Regions from separate parts of the Homo sapiens genome. Here region 1 is linked to region 2. Evidence: promoter capture Hi-C in human tissues and cell types (Jung and others, 2019). All regions are on one chromosome and are shown on one strand. Each heading gives the region's core, a stretch centred on a gene start or on the middle of the fragment in contact. The rest is flanking DNA. Distances are from core to core; before and after follow the strand shown. Region 1 holds the start of RNF187 (ring finger protein 187). Region 2 holds the start of JMJD4 (jumonji domain containing 4).

Region 1 (6,527 bases), core at 3,532-6,031, 750 kb before region 2:
AAGACGATCGCTTGAGCCCAGGAGTTTGAGGCTGCAGTGAGCTATGACCATACCACTGCACTCCAGCCTGGGCCAACAGAGCAAGGCCTTTTTTAAAAAAAATCAAAAAACAGTGCAAGATCACCCTGACCTCCATTCTGCTTCTTAAAAGCAAATGAAATTCCCAAGTGAAAGACGCCCTCCCCATATCAAATAAAATGATTTTATCATCAAGGACGACAGGAAGTCAAGGCCGACAGAATTTGGTACAGACCTTGTGAAAACAACTCTTTCAAGCATCCCCACATCATGTAGTTGCTTTTTTACAAGTGGCTAGTCTTTGTCCAAGTCAGTATATAAGTGATTTAATTTTGCCACTTTGAGTCTTCATTTCATTATAAGGGAGCCTGTGCTGTATAAAACTTGTGTTAAATTAATATGCCTGGCTGGACACGGTGGCTCACACCTGTAATCCCAGCACTTTGGGAGGCCGAGGTGGTTGGATCACTTGAGGTCAGGAGTTCAAGACCAGCCTGGCCAACATGGTGAAACCCCATCTCCACTAAAAATACAAGATTAGCCAGGCGTGGTGGTGCACACCTGTAGTCGCAGTTACTCGGGAGGCTGAGGCAGGAGAACCACTTGAACCAAGGAGGTGGAGGATGCAGTGAGGCAAGATCGCACCACTGCACTCCAGCCTGGGCAACAGAGCAAGACTCCATCTCAAAAAAAAAAAATCCTATGTTTTTTCTCCCATTAACCCATCTCCCTTTATTTTTTTTTTTTTTTTTTTTTTGAGATAGGGCCTCACTCTGTCACCCATGTTGGAGTGCAGTGGTGCCATCACAGTTCACTGCAGCCTCAACCTCTTGGGCTTAAGTGATCCTCCCACCTCAGCCTCCCAAGTAGCTGGGACCACAGATGCAACACCATACCTGGCTAATTTATTAATTTTTGTACAGATGGTGGTCTCACTATGTTACCCAGGCTGGTCTCGAACTCCTAGCCTCAAGCAATCCTCCTACACCTCAGCCTCCCAAGTTGCTGGGATTACAGGCATGAACCACTGCACCTGACCCTGTTAGTTTAGCTTATGTCAGTTTAATTCTCCCGCCCAGCCTGGGGCCCTAAAAGGGGAGAAATAGAGTTCTTTCTCCCCTACACTGCAGTGCTCAGCTGCACAGGAAGACTGTCCCTCTCCCATCTCCCATGGCCAAGGGGACAGTAAATCCTTGAGTGGCCCTGCTAGGTCTAGAGCCTGTCAGGCACGTGACTGTCAGGGCAGGACACACACCCATCTTGCCAGCAACTGTCCCTGCTGTGCCCACACCAGAACTCCAATGGCTGAAAACCATCCCATCAGCCTTCAACAAACAGCATTCACACTTGCCACTCTTCAGCTGGTTTTCAGCCAACTCCTAACCTTGCAAACAGGAGAGCAGAGCAGGATGCTACTCTGATTTTACTCAGTCATGGATGGCTTCCACCTGGCCCTGGGCCACACAGGGCAGGTGACACCCATAGTCATGAGGGGCCAAGGCTTTTGTTGCTGAGAATGCAAATGACAGCTGGGTGTCTGCTGGCTGGCTGATGCAACACGCTGCAAACTCCTTCCTTTGGATTTAGGTGGCTTCTCTCATCCCAGCATCTAAGCCACAAACCCCCAAAACAGGACAGATTGAAAGCTCCAACCTGCTAAAATCTGTGGGCAAAACAATTCCCTTGGGGTAACACAGGGTTACTGAAAACTTGGAGGTCCCCAAAGCCTTCCAGCCTCACTTGCACTGGGCAGTGTTGACCACTCACAAGGCAAGGAGAAGTTCAGAGCAGCCCCAAGGGCAGTGTGGAGTGCCAGGGGTCTGAGTGGCATCAGGGACCCCATGTGTAACCCGTCACTGTCTGAGGGAGGCCTGCACCTCAGGCCTGTGGATAGCAGGCAAGGGCTTGGCAGCACCAGGAGCACAGAGCCCACCTCAGCCTCAAGCTGGGGTAAAAACGTGGGCCTCAGCCTCGAGATGCAGCCAGTTACCCAAGAGCTGCTGCACCTGTGAAAAGCACTCTGTCTTTCAGGTTAAAAGAAGGAGATAGGAATTTATGAAACGCAGAGAAAATGGCACACAGGTTTTTACTACACGAGGAAAAAGTCACCAAATAGAGTTTAAACGACTAAAGAGCTTTACTGGTGAGTAACCTAAAAGAATCTATGGGATGTCCCCTTGGGATATAATACTGTGGAAGGCACCCAAGGAAAGTAACGCTGCTCTGGTCTGAATGTCTGTGTCCTCCCCAAATCCCCATGCTGAAATCCTCATCCCTCAGGTGATGGCGTTAGGAGGCAGGACCCTTGGGAGGTGATGAGGTTGTGAGGGTGGAACTCTCAAGAACGGAATCAGTGTCCTTACACAAAGGCCCCAGAGACACCCTCACTTCTTCCACCATGTGAGGACACAGTGAGAAGACACCATCTATGAACCAGGAAACGCCCTCACCAGACAGGGAATCTGCCAGTTCCTTCATCTTGGACTTCTAGCCTCTAAAAAATAATGAGCAACTCTCAGATCAGAACAAGAGGACCACAGAAAATTACAGATGTGTTCTAAAAAAGAAAAAAAAAATAGCACTTTGGGAGGCCAAGGCGGGAGAACCGCTTAAGGTCAGGAGTTTGAGACCAGCCTGGGCAACACAGCAAGACCCCCACCTCTAGAAAAGCATTTTAAAATTAACCAGGTGTGGTAGCACGTGCCTATAGTCCCAGAGGCTGAGGTGGGAGGATCGCCTGAGGCCAGTTCGAGCTGCAGTGAGCTACAATCATGCCATTGCACTTCAGCCTGGGTAATGAAGTGAGACTCTGTCTCTTGGGAAAAAAAAAAGAAGTCTGATGCTGCCATCACCTACAGGTAAAATGTGAGGAGAAAAAGAGGCTTCCACTGGCTTTGGCTAGATTCTATTTGAGAAATACAAACACATCCTAAAAAAAATACCCTGAAGCTCACTTAAGTCCAGAGGCCCCTCCTCCAACCAACCAGCTGAGCAGTTCAGAGGCCTGGCCCACTTGGCCTGGTGGTCCCTTTGTCTAGAGCCCTGAGCCCACAGTCCCCTCATTCCAGGCTGCCCCAGGTCCCCCCACTTGCCTTCCACACTGCAGCTGCTGACTCTGCCTGGCCATGCAGGTCCCGGGCGTCATTCAAGTCCTTTCTCATGATTTCCACAGACCCCTTGTTCTCCTGTAAAGAAAAGAAGGTCACCAGGGGTGGGCAGAAGCTCTGGGTCCCCCAACCCAGCCCAGTACTGAGGGACATCACCCCAGCTGACTGCACACAGTCTGACCATCCCAGAGATAACCTCGAAGCCCGGTTGTCTAGGGCAGGAACGCACAGGCAGTCAAAAGGTTTCTTGGGCTTCACACCTATTCAGAAGGATCTGGGTGCTGGGGCTAAGGGGACTGTCTAGGTGGGTTTAGGAGTTCTGTGTCTGTAAGTGGCCCTGTTCAGTGTGAGTTCGGCCTGTACCAAAGGTCTGCACAGCCTGCCCTACACCCTGCCCTGCCTGAGCCGGATGGGGGTCGCTCTGCCCGGTGGCAGGACCCCCAATGCAGGAGGAGCACCCAGGGACACAGTCTGGCTGGCTTCCCCTCCCCTGTATTGAAGAGCAGGACCCCAGGCTGGCTGTTGTCTCCTATTCTGTGTCCCACAACCAACCCGCCATGGGCAAGGCTCCAGACTCCCGGACCCGCTGCTGCCAGACTCTCAGAGCGGGTTTCTGAAAGATGGGAGAGGGGACAGGGGGTGCAGGCGAGGGCTGGGTGGCCCGGGGAGCAGACGAGAAGGTGGGCCAGGCCTGTGGACACAGTGGAATACAGAGGGGCAAGAGGCGTGATGTCTCCCCCAAGGGAAGAGTGAGTGGAGGAGTCAATCTGTAGGAACTAGAGGGGGTCTATGAGGGCGAGACAGGGCACAGCTAGTGATGGGACCACAAAGATGGGCGCTGGTGGGGGAAGGACTTCGTAGAAGGTAGGGGGTGGGGAGATAAGGCACCGCCCAGCAGGGGACACCAAGACGGGGAAGGGGACCAGACTCCGAAGAGACGCAGGAAATATGGGGAGGCAAGCCGCAGGAGGGAGGGGCCCAGCACACGCTGGAGAGGGGACCCGTGGCGGTGAGGGGAGGGGGACAATCCGGGGACGGGGACAATCCGGGGACAGGAACAGTGGAGACGGGAAGGGCCCAGGGCTCAGGGGGACCGGGGCGGGGGCGGAGAGGCGCAGGGCACCGTCCGGGGTGGGGCACGGGACCCCGCGGCGCGCACCTTGCCGCGCAGCGCCTTCCTCCAGCGCGGTTCCCACTCGGGCGGCTCGGGGCCCGCAGCCATACGGCAGGCGGCGCAGAGCGGGCCGGCGTCGGCGCGGCACAGCAGCTGCAGCGCGGCCTCGCTGGCCGGGCCGTCGCGCGCGGGCGCCGCGGCCGCCTCCTCGAGCGCCAGAAGGCGGCGGCTGAGCGGGGGCCTGCCGGGCTCCACGGCGCGCTGCCAGCAGTCGTCGGCGCACTCGGGGCACGGGAAGGGCCCGTCCTCCTCGGCCCAGAAGCGCACCACGCACGCCCGACAGAAGCGGTGGCCGCAGTCGGCGCGCACCGGTTCCCGGGGCGCGCGCTGGCACAGGGCGCAGGCGGCCTCGGCGGGGCCCGCAGGGAGCGCCAGGGCTGCGGGCGGCGGGGCCGGCAAGGGCGCAGGAGCGGCTGGGGAGGGCCGGAGACCTAGACGGCCGGCGACCGGACGGAGACCAGCAACAGGACGAAGACGCCAACGCCGGGGACGCGCACGGGGCGGGGTCGGGGACGCGCACGGGGCGGGGTCCGGACCGCGGAGCGCTCTGCCGATAAGATCCTGGCAGCGGTGTGCTGCAGCCGGAGGTCCTGGCCGCGCTGCGCTCCACAGACAAGATCCTGGCAGCAGTGTACTGCATCCTTAGGTCCTGGCCGCGGTGGGCTTCTCCGCCTGGATCCTAGCGGCGGTGCGCTCCTCCGCCTTGATTTTGGCAACTATGCTCTCCACCTGCAAGGTCCTGGCAGCGGCGCACGTCACCGCGCAAGTCCTGGCAGCTGCGCGCTTCACTCTACTGCCTGCGGACCGGCCCAAGTCGTATCCTGAAATCTTACTGGGCTGTCCCTTCCTACTTCAGTAACTCCTGCGAAAGAGGGAAACAAAGTTTTATTTTTACTTGAAGGTTCCATTTTTAAAAGGTTGTTTTTGTAAGCTGCTAGGATCTGAGCTGCGCGTACCCCCGCGGTAGCTCGCCCGCGTGGGCTGGGGACGGGGCGGGAAATGGCCTGCGTGGGCCTCCTCCGCTGCTCTCATCCTGCACGGACCCGCCCTGCATGGGCACGCCCTGCGTGCACGGGCCTGCCCGCGTGGACGTGCCCTGCGTGCACCCTTCCTTCAGGGACCCGCCCTTGAACGGCCCTCCGGACGTGGACACTCGTATACGCCCACCCTGCGTGGGATCTCCCTGCGTGGACCCATCCCGCTGAGCCTCTTCTCGCGCAGCCTCCCTCTGGCCCCCTGGGAAGCTACCCTGGTTGTCCGCTGTCTCCTGGCTGGGGGGAGCTCTCATTGATTCTGTGATGATGCATGACAGAAGAGCATTTGTTAGCTTTGCTTTGCTTTTCTTTCTTTTTTGAGACAGCCTCGCTCTGTTGCCAGGCAGGCTTGAGTGCAGTGGCGCGATCTCGGCTCACTGCAACCTCCGCGTCCCGGGTTCAAGCGATTCTCCTGCCTCAGCCCCCCGAGTAGCCGGTATTGCAGGCGCCTGCCACGACGCCCGGCTAATTTTTGTATTTTTAGTACAGACGGGGTTTCACCATGTTGGCCAGGCTGGCCTCGAACTCCTGACCTCGTAATCCACCCGCCTCTGCCTCCCAAAGTGCTGGGATTACAGGCGTGAGCCACTACACCCGGCCGTTAGCTTTTCTTTAAAAAATAAATTTAAAGGAAAGAAATAAGCCTTTGGGAAGAGCAATCTTGTGTTTTTGTTTTTTAATTATTTTGAAAACAAGCAAGCATGGTTAAAATAAGATTGTGCAAGTTTTGCATTTTAAAAAATTAATCTGGGCCGGGCGCCGTGGCTCACGTCTCTAATCCCAGCACTTTGCGAGGCCGAGGCGAGCGGATCACAAGGTCAAGATATGAGACCATCCTGGCTCATGGTGAAACCCCGTCTCTACTAAAAATACACAAATTAGCCGGGCGTGGTGGCGCATGCCTGTAATCCCAGCTACTCAGGAGGCTGAGGCAGGAGAATCACTTGAACCAGGGAGTCGGAGGTTGCGGTGAGCCAAGATCGTGCCACTGCACTCTAGCCTGGCGACAGAGCGAGACTCTGTCTTAAAAAACAAAAACAAAAAAAAATTTTTATAAATCTGTATTCCAAGCAAGCGCAGGATCTAATGAGGTATTTTTGTCTTTGTGAAGATTTTTTAAATCGACTTGGAAATGCACTAGATGCCCGTGGGAAACATGAATAGTAAACCGAGGTTATTTCTGTGTAGTAAAGA
Region 2 (5,835 bases), core at 3,336-5,835:
TTCCTCCAGTGCAGGTGTGGGCCTGGGGACCCGCGCTGACCCTGAGAACACACAGCTGAATCCTCGAGGGAGGTCATGGCCAGGGGCCCAAGGGTGTCTGCAGCCAACCCACACAAGTGACGCTCTTGGGGAGGAAGTCTGCAGCACAGGGATGGCTCAGCACGCAGGGCGATCTGTACAATGGGTCTCTTTCAGCATTTCCATCACTCAAGGGTCCCCTGAGTGAGGCTCAGTACCCAGTAAACAACTTATTTTTAGTTAATTTCCGCAGTCACAGAACAAACATCTTGCACACCTTCCACTACCTCGCAACCAAGAAGCTAAGTGAGAACAGTGGTGGCTGTGTGTGCCCACAGGGGCGGTAGGGTGCGGCCAATCTTTCCAGGCTCCCCTCCCCTGCTCCTCAGACCCTCTTTCCACTCCCTCAGAGGTTCCCAACTCTAGCCACAAAGTGCAGACACCCTCACTGGGGCTGTTTGCATGCAACACAGTGACAGAGGAGCACATATTCGGCACAAAGCGTACTGCATTTTCTCCAAAGTGCTGACTTAAAACCCGTCCTGGCCAGGCACAGTGGCTCATACCTGTAATCTCAGCACTCTGGGAGGCTGAGGTGGAGGATCACTTCAGCCCAGAAGGCAGAGGTTGCAGTGAGCCAAGATAGCGCTATTGCATTCCAGCCTGAGTGACAGAGGAAGACCCCGTTTTAAAACAAAAACAAAAAACCATCCTAATGGAGTATTGTGTGGGGCCCAAGAATGTGGATTTCTTGCCATTCCCAAGCGATGCCAGGGCTGATCTAGCGGGCTCTGGGTGACACAAGCCTATGTTCCAGTCCCATGAGAGCTGATAACACTCCAGGCCTCCTGCGTATACAGTGGTGACACTGACCCGAGGGGGCACCCTGCGGACCAGCGAACTAAACCACAGAGTTCCATCTCAAGAACGAGAGCTCCATCTCCCACCAAGTCCTAGGGGCTCAGTGATCTCAGGGAGCTGTGGACCTGCTAGCCCAAATGCTCCTTTCTTAGGAAACAGGCTCAACCACGGAGCTGCAGGAACTCCTTCCAGGCAATGCCCACCTGAATTTCAGTTTCCCCATGAGGCAAACTCGGAACCATATTCCAAGATCTTGAGACAATTATAAACACTCTGCTCCCCACATCTTCCCCATTGGCCTCCCATGATCTGCATGCACCACAACCAAAATCAAATGACTACTAGCAATTAAGGAACAATATGTGGCAAGATCAATTAAGGTCAATTAATTGTCAATATTGAGGTCAATATGTGGCAAGATGTTACAGCATATTGTTAAATAAAAAACAAAAGACTAAAAGCAGCAAAAGTTTATATATGTATATTATACACGATGGAGAAAGAGACTGTGTATGTGTGAGTGTGTGTGCATACATGTGCGTGAACGTATAGGCAAGGACTGGGGGGAGAGAAGAGTGGAGAGAGAGAATGAATGAATGAATGAATGTATGTGTGAAGGAATGTAGAAAAGCCGGCTCTACACCAGGAATAAAAAACGGTCATCTCGGCTGGGTGTGCGGTGGCTCACGCCTGTAATCCCAGCACTTTGGGAGGCCGAGTCGGGCAGATCACAAGGTCAGGAGTTCGAGACCAGCCTGACCAACATGGTGAAACCCCGTCTCTACTAAAAATACAAAAATTAGCTGGGCGTGGTGGTGCGCGCCTGTAATCTTCGCTACTCAGGAGGCTGAGGCAGGAGAATCACTTGAACCTGGGAGGCGGAGGTTGCAGTGAGCCAAGATCATGCCATTGCACTCCAGCCTGGGTGACAGAATAAGACGCGGTCTCAAAACAGCAAAAACAACAAAACAAAAAACAAAAAACAAAAAAACCAAAAAAAACCAAAGCAAAAAAACCCCAGTCATCTCTGGACGGAACTGGAGGTGATTCTTTCTCTGCAACTGTAACTTCTCCAGACATTCTGATTCTCTAGTGTAAAAAAAACCCCAATAAACAATTGCATACCGTGATCACACAAGCCACAATAGGGCTGACTAGGAAGGGACCATAGCACGCACTGAATCACACAATCCCCAAAACAACTCTCCGCCTCCTGTCCCTGCCCTCATATCCCACCTTTACCTGGACTCAGACTCCCAAAACTCACTTTCCTCCTAGTCCTCCCTCCAACTCCTCAGACCTTGGTCCTCCCTCTTCTGCTCCTCCCTGTTCTCCTGGGTAAACCTCACACCCCTTGGAAAGAGTCTTCCAGCAAGGCTCAGAGCCCCAGCACTCCTAGAACCTCCCATATCCCCACTTATAAGAGTAAATAAAACAACATTTCCATTGCTTCATAAAGGGAAGGCAGGTGCCCCTCTCCCGCTTAGGATGCCTCTGTTTGGTCTGGAATGAGATAGCCCAGTGTCCAGATTTTACAAGACACAGTCATGGTCTGATGGCCCCTAGAATGTCATCAGACCTCCAAACCTAACTCAAAGGCCTCGCACTGTGTGCAAACCAGCACAAGCTGCCTCTCATTTCTCTGGGAGAGATGAGCGGTTCTAACTGTTCCTCCTTCCACCTCCCTGTCAAGACGCCTGGGAAATGCTGCCCAGACTCTGCACTCTCTCGCAGAGCACCTATGTGCACACAGCCTGCCAGGCTTCGGGGGCAATAAATCTGCTATCTTTCCTTCTGCATCCATGTGGGTAGCTTTGAGCTGATTTCTCCAGCACACCAAGACATACATCACATAGGGTCCCCCATGGCCCCACTTTCGTGTCCTGGCCGAAAATCACAGAGTACCCTGATCCCTCTGTGCCCCAACCACAGGTTTTCCCCACCAGGCTTCAACCCAATCCAGGGCCTTTAACATTTCCAGGCATGGAAGAAAGTATCTAGGTTTACTACAAAGAAAACGGCCTTGGCCCTGAGCCAAATTCCTGAAACCTTCCTATAAACTCCATAACCCACACCCCTTCCAAGAGACATACCTAGGGAGGACATCCCTTTTCCCTTACTGCCCGTCTCGAGGACTACCGCAGCCCACTCTATATGAAAGTTCCCCTAACAAAACCTCTAGGCAGGGCCTGGCGCAGTGGCTCACACCTGTAATCCCAGCACTTAGGGAGGCCAAGGCAGAAGGATTGCTTGAGCCCAAACGTTCAACACCGGCTTGGGCAACACAGAGACCCTGTCTCTACAAAAAAAAAAAAAAAAAACAAAAACAAAAAAACAAAACTAAGCTGGGCATAGTGGCTCATGCCTGTAGTCCCAGCTACTTGGGAGGCTGAAGCAGAATTAAAGAATTCATCAAGCCCAGGAGGTGGAAGCTGCAGTAAGCTGTGATGGTGCCACTGCATACTGTCTCAAAAAAAAAAAAAAAAAAAAAAAAAAAAAAAAAAACTGCTCTGGGCTTACCATGCATTTAGCACTTCTTTCTTTGGTATCCCAACTGGTCCCACCTGAGGATAGTGTGGGGAACTCCCTTGCCGCCACTTTTGGGGTAACTCCAGTTGCAAGTTTGGCAAAACACTCCTCATGTCACTACTCCGATGTCCTCCCACTTCAGCCCTGCTCATGTGTACACAGCCCCAAATCCCTACCCACACTCCCACCACACCTTCATTTCACACCCTCCCTCATTCCCCACCATCTTCTCCAGACACCCGTCATCCCCTGGGGCCCCTTGCCATGCCCTCCAGGTCCCCTGTGGGCCCCATTCGCCCATCTAGGTTACCCTGCCCCCTCCAGCCCTCCCACCATTTTCCTCCAGGTCCCCACCATCCTCTCTAGATCCCATGTCCCCTCCAGGTGCCACTGATCCCTCCAGGAACCCACTGTCCCCATCCCTTCCAAGTGCTACCGTCCCCTCCAAATCCCCACTGTCCCCTCCAGGTCCTCAATGTCCCCATCTCCTCCAAGTGCCACCGTCCTCTCCAGGTCCCCACCGTCCTCTCCAGGTCCCCACTGTACCCATCCCCTCCAGATCCCACCGTCCTCTCCAGGTCCCCACTGTCCCCATCCCCTCCAGGTCCCACCGTCCCCTCCAGATCCCGTCTCCATCCCCTCCAAGTGCCACCGTCCTCTCCAGGTCCCCACCATCTCCTCCAGGACCCTACCATCTCCGCTAGATCCCACCATCCCAGGGCCCCCCAGCTCTCCCTCTGGGTCCCACCGTTCTCTCCGGGTCCCATCATCCCTGGGCGCCCCCGCACCGCCGCACTCCCGCCCCCAGAACCGCCTCTGTCCCCGCCCCTCTCCCAGCGCAGCCCGCATACCCCCCACCCCCCGGGGATGCGGGAAGGAGGGCTCGGGCTGTGTCAGCCACAGCGCGCGGACTGAGCCGAGGGCGGACGCTACGGCTTGGCTTGGGCCGGGCGCCCAACAGACCAACACCGTCGCTCACCTGAGGGACGCCAGACGAGTCCCAGAGCCGACCGCGGCGCCTCGGCCGCTCGGCGCCTGCGCAGTGAAGACCGCGGCGAGCCGCGCGCATGCGTGCAGGCCCGGAGCCCCAGGCGCTGGCGGGGCAGAAACGCGGCGCCCTGCGTCTTCTGGTTCCGAGGCTGGTCCTCACCGTTTCCGCTCCGGCGGAAGTGAGGAGGAGGGTCCTTCGACCCGTGCTGAGCTGGATGGACCGCGAGACGCGCGCCCTCGCCGACAGCCACTTCCGAGGCCTGGGGGTCGATGTCCCCGGCGTCGGCCAGGCTCCGGGCCGGGTAGCCTTCGTCTCGGAGCCGGGCGCCTTCTCCTACGCCGACTTTGTGCGGGGCTTCTTGCTGCCCAACCTGCCCTGCGTGTTTTCCAGCGCCTTCACGCAGGGCTGGGGCAGCCGGCGGCGCTGGGTGACGCCCGCGGGGAGGCCCGACTTCGACCACCTGCTACGGACCTACGGTGGGGCGGCGGCCGCAGACCCCGGGCGGGGAGGAAAGGCCGGCGGGACCCAGGCCCGGGAGGCCCCCGCCTAGAGAGGGGCACCAGGGAGGGTGAGGGAGGCCAGGCGCGTGGCCCCTGGAGAGTTCCTCTGCAGACGGTTTGGAGTGAGGACGGGGCCCAGGGAGATGGCATGGACCGTGCCTTTCATTTCAGGAGACGTGGTTGTACCAGTTGCAAACTGTGGGGTCCAGGAATACAACTCGAACCCCAAAGAGCACATGACTCTCAGAGACTACATCACCTACTGGAAAGAGTACATACAGGCGGGCTACTCCTCTCCCAGGGGCTGTCTCTACCTCAAAGACTGGCACTTGTGCAGGTAATGGGGCTTGGGACGCACCGAGGCGCTGCCTTCCCTAGCGCTGCGTGAACCCAGAGGCCTTTCTGATGAAGGTGGCCCCTGGGTGCACAACGGAGCTATTTTTCCCCGTGAGGCACTTTAATCAGTTTAAAAGAAACTGGATTGTCTTCCGCATGGCTGCAAGTGTTGTTCTTTGGGAGGTCAATATGGTTTTTTTTCCTTTTTTTTTGAGAGAGATCTCCTCAGCCTCCCTAGTACCTGGGATTACAGGAAGGCGTCTCCACTCCCGGCTTTTTTTTTTTTTTTTTTTTTTTTTAAAGAGACTAGGTTTCACCATGTTGCCCAGGCTGGTCTTGAACTCCTGAGCTCAGGTGATGCATCCACCTCAGCATCTCAAAGCACTGGGATTATAGGCATGATCAGTACTTTCTAATAAGCAGAACCATTGTAGTCAGACTGCCCCGCCCCCTCCCCCGCCAGCAGCGTCTGGCTCAGAGGAGGGTCTGGGGCTCTTTGGGGGCTGCAGCCATCTGGAAGCTCCACTGGAGCCGATTGGTCTCAGTTGCCCCACTCGTGCTGCCCTAGTCTCCTCGTGCCTCACGTGCTGTCGGTGGTGC

Evidence for each region. Contacts are between HindIII fragments. The study calls those that stand out against the background at their distance.
Region 1: a contact is called between the fragment with the promoter of RNF187 here and the fragment with the promoter of JMJD4 in region 2, in 1 of the 25 tissues and cell types used here (neural progenitor cells).

Annotation. Positions count from the first base shown.
Region 1 is chr1:228,485,636-228,492,162 of GRCh38, reverse strand. It overlaps RNF187 (ring finger protein 187), which reads right to left and starts at 4,781. Exons shown (of 4, transcript NM_001010858.3): 1 at 4,285-4,781; 2 at 3,111-3,203. The coding sequence starts at 4,674. RefSeq lists enhancers at 1,361-1,655, 3,335-4,063, 4,181-5,041, 5,343-5,722, 5,042-5,903 and 1 more and silencers at 4,143-4,342, 4,603-4,722. The HindIII fragment of the contact is 28,484 bases long and covers 1-6,527 here.
Region 2 is chr1:227,734,052-227,739,886 of GRCh38, reverse strand. It overlaps JMJD4 (jumonji domain containing 4), which reads left to right and starts at 4,585. Exons shown (of 6, transcript NM_023007.3): 1 at 4,585-4,875; 2 at 5,071-5,236. The coding sequence starts at 4,614. It overlaps SNAP47 (synaptosome associated protein 47), which reads right to left and starts at 4,452. Exons shown (of 5, transcript NM_053052.4): 1 at 4,388-4,452. RefSeq lists silencers at 4,114-4,403, 4,864-5,063. The HindIII fragment of the contact is 38,393 bases long and covers 1-5,835 here.